Regions from separate parts of the Homo sapiens genome. Here region 2 is linked to region 1. Evidence: promoter capture Hi-C in 16 types of primary human blood cells and fetal thymus (Javierre and others, 2016). All regions are on one chromosome and are shown on one strand. Each heading gives the region's core, a stretch centred on a gene start or on the middle of the fragment in contact. The rest is flanking DNA. Distances are from core to core; before and after follow the strand shown. Region 1 holds the start of PNP (purine nucleoside phosphorylase). Region 2 holds the start of ADCY4 (adenylate cyclase 4).

Region 1 (3,219 bases), core at 389-2,888:
TAAATAAATAAAAATAAAATAAAATAAAACCAGGTTTAGGAATTGCTGGTCTGGAGGGAAGCAGAATTCGACCTAGATTCTAGTCCCAATATTGTCTTTTTAGGCATGTAATTTGTGCTTTAAATTATTTTCTCAGGTATAAACAAGGGATGTAAATTGGCCCCATCTATCTTATAGGCTCAATCTGAAAATGAATTGAATACTTGCTAACAACTTCCAAAGACCTATGGCTCTGTTACACAAAGTATTTGAATCTTTCTCCTGCTTTCCACCTGCCTGTGGTCTTCTTCCTGTCCTTCCCCCTCCCTGCCTCCTCCCAGTTTCCTTTCTCTCCACCGAGGATCTTTGCTCTTCAGAAACCTCAGGGCACTTACCCAGAACCCCTACACTAGCAAGAATCAACCCGTGTTACTTTTCTCCCAGTTCCAAGTCCAGTTCTCTCACATCCATCTGGGAAGACCAAACGTTGCTTTCAGAGGTGGCAATGAGGTGTGACAGAGCTGAACACAACTAACCAAGCTTTCACAGGAAATTTTTTACTTGGAAAGCAGAGCCCGGGAAACCAGACATGATTGCACAATACACCAGGCTACCCTCAGGGAAGCAGTTGGATCAGGTAGGTTGGGGGCTGGTCAACGGAGCCACAGGACAATGGAGAGAAGCAATTAAGCTGGTAAAATGTTAATCAAATGGCATCCCCAAAAGGTGCAAAGGAAATGAATGTGTGAAGCTGCCGCCACATGGCATGTCTAGCCACATCTCACAGCACTTCCTCATTGGCTATCAGTCCCCTCAAGAACACCCTGGCTCCCTGGGCATCCAAAAGCAACTGTGATGCCTAATGCAGGTCACTTGGACTGGGATATCCAGGACCCAAGCCGAGAGAAGAGTTTTCAAAGGCGTGGGGTGGGGGAAGTGAGCACAGGACTGTTGCTCAGTTCGGTGACTGATTTCCGTCTCCACTTAGCAGTCACTTCCCACCGAGTTAATCATACTGCCAGTCTGGAAGGAAGGGAGGAGTGCAACTGGCAAAGGAGGTGAGTAATCTTGCCTCTAAAGGAGGAACTCCGAATTTGAGCACCAAAAGTACCTCGCAGCTTTACCCAGACCCTAGCATGGGAATTTATGAAGAGCGCAGGGGGTGAGGAGACCTCCTCCTGGTATGGAGTGAGGGATATATACATATACTCACTCTCCACTTGTTCCCCTAACACACACACGGAGACACACAACGGCTGCTTTTACGGAGTAGCTTAGACCGCACCGACCTGTCCCCTTCCTGCTCCGGTGGCGCCACCCCAGCTCGATTCCCGCGTGCGTCCCTGCCCGCGCTGGCTGCCGCATGACTCTGCCGCCTTGCTCCCGACACTAGGCTCAGTGCCAGGCCTCTCTGCATCCCCTGGGCGCTCGCTCCCTCCGCCAGCTCCCTCTGGGCCCAGTGTGCCAGGTTCCCGGGTCACAGCACCTGCCCCTCCCCAAGGGTCCTGCGGGCCTGGTGCCCTCCTCACCCGTTCTCCATGGTCTCGCAGACGCCTTCTCGATGAGCCTGCTCCGGTGTGCTCCGATCCGCTCCGATCCGATCGGATCCGCTCCGCTATGCTGAACTGAGCAAGGCTGCCGGGTCTGGTTCGCACAGTTGGCTCACTGGTCTAGGCTCTGGCTTATATCCCTTGCCCTGGAGTCCCCAGCCAATGGCAAGCGAGCACGCGGGCCGGCCCTGTCTCCATGGTGACACACCCTAATTCAATCGGCTGAACCTGGGCTGTAAACCTAATCAGAGTTCTTCCCAGCCCTAAACCTTCTGCCCCGGGGCGGGCGGGGGGAGCCGGAGCGCACCCAGCATTTCATCTCGGTACCCATTCCAGTCCGCAGGGCAGGAGTTCCCAGCAAGAAGGCCTATGCGGAAATAGGGCTAGAAGTAGGGAGGAGAGCCCCCAGCCCTCTCCTTGCAACCTCATTCCAGCTGTGTCAATAGCAAACCGTGAGAGATTCAAAAAGGAAAAATTTCATACCTTAGATTGTACAACCCCAGAATAAAAATGAAGCGAGACTGTGTCTGAGTTGCTCCCTGGACAAGGGAAGCTGGGTCGCCCCCGGCAACAGTGCTAACTTGGAGGATACAGGGTTTAGGAGAGCACATCCAGGCCCAGACCGGGAGAAGAAAAAGTTCTCAGGCAAGAATTCCGGGGTCCTAGATGCCGACAGAAAGGATAAGGATGGATTTGGTGGGTAGGGACACAGATAATCCCTTGATCTGCGCAATATTGATCCAAGCAATTCAGGTAACTAGAGGACTCCTCCCACGAAGAAAATTCTGTTATCGGAATACACGGGTACCAGAATATAACATAAATAGCGTGTCTTTGGTAGAATACAACTATTACTTCTGCCCACATTTACAATTTAATTTTTACATTTAATTTACATTTTTACATTAAATTTACATTTAATTTTTAATTTAAAAAATTAAAAAAAAATTTATATATAAAGGCCAGGCGCGGTGGCTCACGCCGGTAATCCCAGCACTTTGGGAGGCCGAGGTGGGTGGATCACCTGAGGTCAGGTGTCGGAGACCAGCCTGGCCAACAAGGCAAAACCCCATCTGTACTAAAAATACAAAAAATTAGCTGGGCGTGGTGGCAGGCGCCTGTAATCCCAGCTACTTGGGAGGCTGAGGCAGGGAGAATGGCTTGAACCCGGGAGGTGGAGGTTGCAGTGACCTGAGATCACACCATTGCACTCCAGCCTGGGCAACAGAGTGAGTAGCTGGTTCCTGAGAACTTACTAGCACTTTGAAAATAACAATGCACACAAATTGAAAAAAAAATTTCGTTCTTAAATAACCACAAACAGTTACTTACGGGATATGTACATCTGTTTGGCACTACTCAACTTCTCACATGCAGGAATCCAATGCTGCCACCCTCATTTTCTGTTCCATGCTGATTTTTACACAGTACTTTTTTTTTTTACTTAATACTTAATTTTTATCAGAGGGACCTTCTAAAACCATCTTTTGTAAAGATATGTTGTCTTTATATATATATATATTTTTGAGACAGGGTTTCACTCTGTAACCCAGGCTGGAGTACAGTAGCACGATCTTGCCTCACTGCAATCTCTGCTGCCTGGGTTTGAGCCATTCTTTTGCCTCAGCCTCCCGAGTAGCTGGGATTACAGGTGCCTGCCACCATGCCTGGCTAATTTTTGTATTTTTAG
Region 2 (3,219 bases), core at 296-2,795, 3.9 Mb before region 1:
CAGAGGACCTCCCAGCAAAAAAGATCAGGGTCTCAAATGTCAATTGCCACTCTCTAGAGCTTCTGCTAACACAATTCTGGAGAGGAGCTCTGAGGGGAGGAGCACAGGGCACACCTTGACACAGCCACTGACAAGTAGAGACTTCATACTCCCCACCCACCCCCAACTTGGCCTTTCTGACAGCTAAACCCTCCTGCCACCATCACTATTTCTCTTAAAGGGCGACCGCTCGTTAACATATACAACTGCTCTGGGGTGCAAGTTGGAGACAACAACTACTTGACTATGCAACAGACAACTGCCTTGCCCACATGGGGCTTGGCACCTTCGGGCAAGGGGAGGGGCTTGCAGCACCCCCCACCAGTAGGTTCGCAAGAAGGCCCTAAAGATCCTGAAGCCTGGAGCAGGCCACAGGGTTGGTATAATCATAGCGGGAAATAAAGCACCTTCCAAGCTTGCCTCCAAGAGTTACGAGTTAAGGAAGAGTGCCACCCCTTGAGGCCCCTGACTTCCTTCTAGGGCAGTCTGGCCTGCCCACAAACTGACTTTGTGACCTGTCCCCCAGGAGTCAATAAACATGATGGAATGCTAGTCAGTCTGAGCTCAGCCAGGGGCAGGGAGGGACTGGGATGGGGGTGGGAGCTGCCAGTGAGGGATAGGGAGGCACCACAGCTCTGCTATGGCAGGAAGTGGGGATGCTGGGGGCTGGGAGTGGGCAATGGCCTGGCACACAAGGTCAGGGCACAGCCGGCTACAACAGGAAGGAATCCTAGAGGCCTGGTTCCCCAGACCACTCTCTAATCTCAGGGCAGTGCTTCCTCTAAAGCCTAGGATGGCGACCCCACCCTAACCCTAAACTCTGGGGATAGAGGCTGTGGTCCCTTTTCTTCCGGGCTCTCAAGACTCACTTGCAGGGCTCTGGCGAGGGATGAGTTGATGTGAAAGATCACAGACCTGGCCCCGCACGGTGCCCCCAGGCTCTTAGAGATCATGACGCCACATACCTGCCTCCACCACACACTCAGGTTGCTTCCTGGACATTGCTTCCCTTTTGATTCCCAGTTGCTGTTCGGGAGTGGAAAGCTATGGCTCCTAAAGCTATACACAGGCGCAACCCCTCCCACGGAGCATGAACAGTTCAAACCCGGTGGTAGTGGTTGCCAGCCAAGCGGAGAGGTCAAGAGAATGAGCGCCCCCAACTCTGACCTAGATCCCCACCAGGACCCACATTCTTCCCTACATTCTCGCCAGGCTTCAGCCCCCCGCCCTCGGTCTCCCCACTACCAAACGTTCACCTCCATTTGGACACATCCCATTGGGTCCACCCCAGCCCACCCCTTCGCATCTCTCCCAGGGTCCACATTGCCCTTCCCTGAAGGGGCTGAAGCGGGGAGGCGATGGTGTTAGGAGAGACAAAACCAAGTGCGGGAGGAGACCAGGGGAGTCCGGCTTTGGCACAGGAAGGGGCCGGGCTGTCCCGTCGGGGAAGTGGGAGGGGGCCGCGGCGCCGGGAGGGAAGCGCCTGTCGCCCGGGACTCTGAGCCAGAGCGCAGCGGCGAGCGTGACTCCGCCATCAGGTCCCCGGCTCCCTCCCCGGACCTAGCCCACTCCGCTGCGCCAGCGCCGCGGGCAGTGAGTTCGGGGATCAGGGGAACCCGGGGCTCCCTCGCACCAACCCCAAATCCTGCCCTCCTGGCGATGAGGCTTTTCTAGGGCACCTCTACAATCCGGGTTTGAGGGAGGAGGAGGAAAGGACTGAGGGATCCCCTCATCGCCAGCTGGGAGCGGGCTGGGAGGCCGCAGGGAGGGCCTGAAAAAGGAGACGGGATTGCCACGAGGTTGGGGGCGCGGGGTGGTAGCGGCTTTGAGCGGGTGAGAAAAGCTCAGGTGGGGCCCGCCGGGCCGAAGGAGGTAACCCGGCGCCCGGCCCTAGCCAGCCCCGGGGCTCGGGGCTGGGGAGATCATGGCCCGCCTCTTCAGCCCCCGGCCGCCCCCCAGCGAAGACCTCTTCTACGAGACCTACTACAGCCTGAGCCAGCAGTACCCGCTGCTGCTGCTGCTGCTGGGGATCGTGCTCTGTGCGCTCGCGGCGCTGCTCGCAGTGGCCTGGGCCAGCGGCAGGGTGAGCCGAGCCTCTGCTGCGGGAGGGTCTCTACCTGGGGAGCATTTTCGGGGTTGGGGTTTGTGGGGTCTTCTTTTCGATGTGTTTTCGTTGCTGGGAGCAGAGAAAGAAAGGACCATTGAGCCTGGCTAGGAACTGCAGTGACCCTGGGCAAGTCACTCTACCCTTCTGGGTCTGCTCAGGGAGAAAGCTGAGTCCTGGATGCTTCTCGTTTCTGTCCGGGTTCTGACAGACTTTATGAACATCCGTGGTCTACGGGTTCTACAATAAATCCATCACCGGATTTTCCAGTTTTCCAAAGGGGAAATTCTAGGAGGCCCCTGGGGAATTCATTTCCTGCCTTTCTCTCCCTCTTAGGGGATGTAGAGCAGTTGTACCCACAGACTCCCAGAAGGCACCCTCCACCGGGCTCTCACTGAGTCCCAAAGTAAACCCATGTCCAGTTTCTGTTTGGGGAGGAAGAAGGTCTTCAATCCAATTCTAGAAATGGCCTGCCCCTGGTTTTCTTTTCACTGCTTGGAGGCAAGGTGGGAAAATCACCGGGCGCGGCCAATCCTTGCTGGTCCACGCCTAAATCCGGGAAGAGGTGGGGACAAAATGCTGGGACGGCTGTGCAGCTTCTGCTTGGAGTTGAGGCAGGTGGCGAGATCGCAGCCCTGGTGGCCAGGGAGGTGCGGGACGCCGCGGGTCCTGGCGCCCCCTGCTGCTCGAGCGCTGCCTCGCGCCGCCCTTCAAGCTGCCGGCCGCGGTCCCCGGCTCCGGGAATCTCCCGAGCAAATTGGCCAGATTTGGAGACATTCATTCCGAAGTGCCTCCTTGTGAGCTTGGATCTATCTTTCACTTGCTTCATGACGCTTTGGTTCCCGTTTGACAGATAAGAAAACTGAGGCTCAGAAACAAATAGGGGATGGGAGCCAGATCTTCTGGGTAGCTGTCCCAGCAAGATAATAGGTTGGACAACAGGAGGCTGGGCGCTGTGGCTCACGCCTGTAATCCCAGCACTTTGGGAGGCCAAGGCGGGAGATCGTTTGAGCCCAGGAGCTCGAGACCAGCCTGGGCAACTTGGCGAGACCCTGTCTTCTACTAAAAATACAAAA

What was found. Contacts are between HindIII fragments. The CHiCAGO score rates a contact against its expected background, and 5 or more counts as called.
Region 2: the fragment with the promoter of ADCY4 here is called in contact with the fragment with the promoter of PNP in region 1 in 1 of 17 cell types (non-activated CD4 T cells); the score reaches 5.8 in non-activated CD4 T cells.

Annotation. Positions count from the first base shown.
Region 1 is chr14:20,467,825-20,471,043 of GRCh38, reverse strand. It overlaps PNP (purine nucleoside phosphorylase), which reads right to left and starts at 1,638. Exons shown (of 6, transcript NM_000270.4): 1 at 1,509-1,638. The coding sequence starts at 1,519. RefSeq lists enhancers at 947-1,076, 1,107-1,176, 1,367-1,871 and a silencer at 1,587-1,706. The HindIII fragment of the contact is 7,340 bases long and covers 522-3,219 here.
Region 2 is chr14:24,333,397-24,336,615 of GRCh38, reverse strand. It overlaps ADCY4 (adenylate cyclase 4), which reads left to right and starts at 1,545. Exons shown (of 25, transcript NM_001198568.2): 1 at 1,545-2,122. The coding sequence starts at 1,964. It overlaps RIPK3 (receptor interacting serine/threonine kinase 3), which reads left to right. Exons shown (of 10, transcript NM_006871.4): 10 at 221-591. The coding sequence ends at 441. RefSeq lists silencers at 1,839-1,918, 1,989-2,148, 2,809-2,908. The HindIII fragment of the contact is 4,552 bases long and covers 457-3,219 here.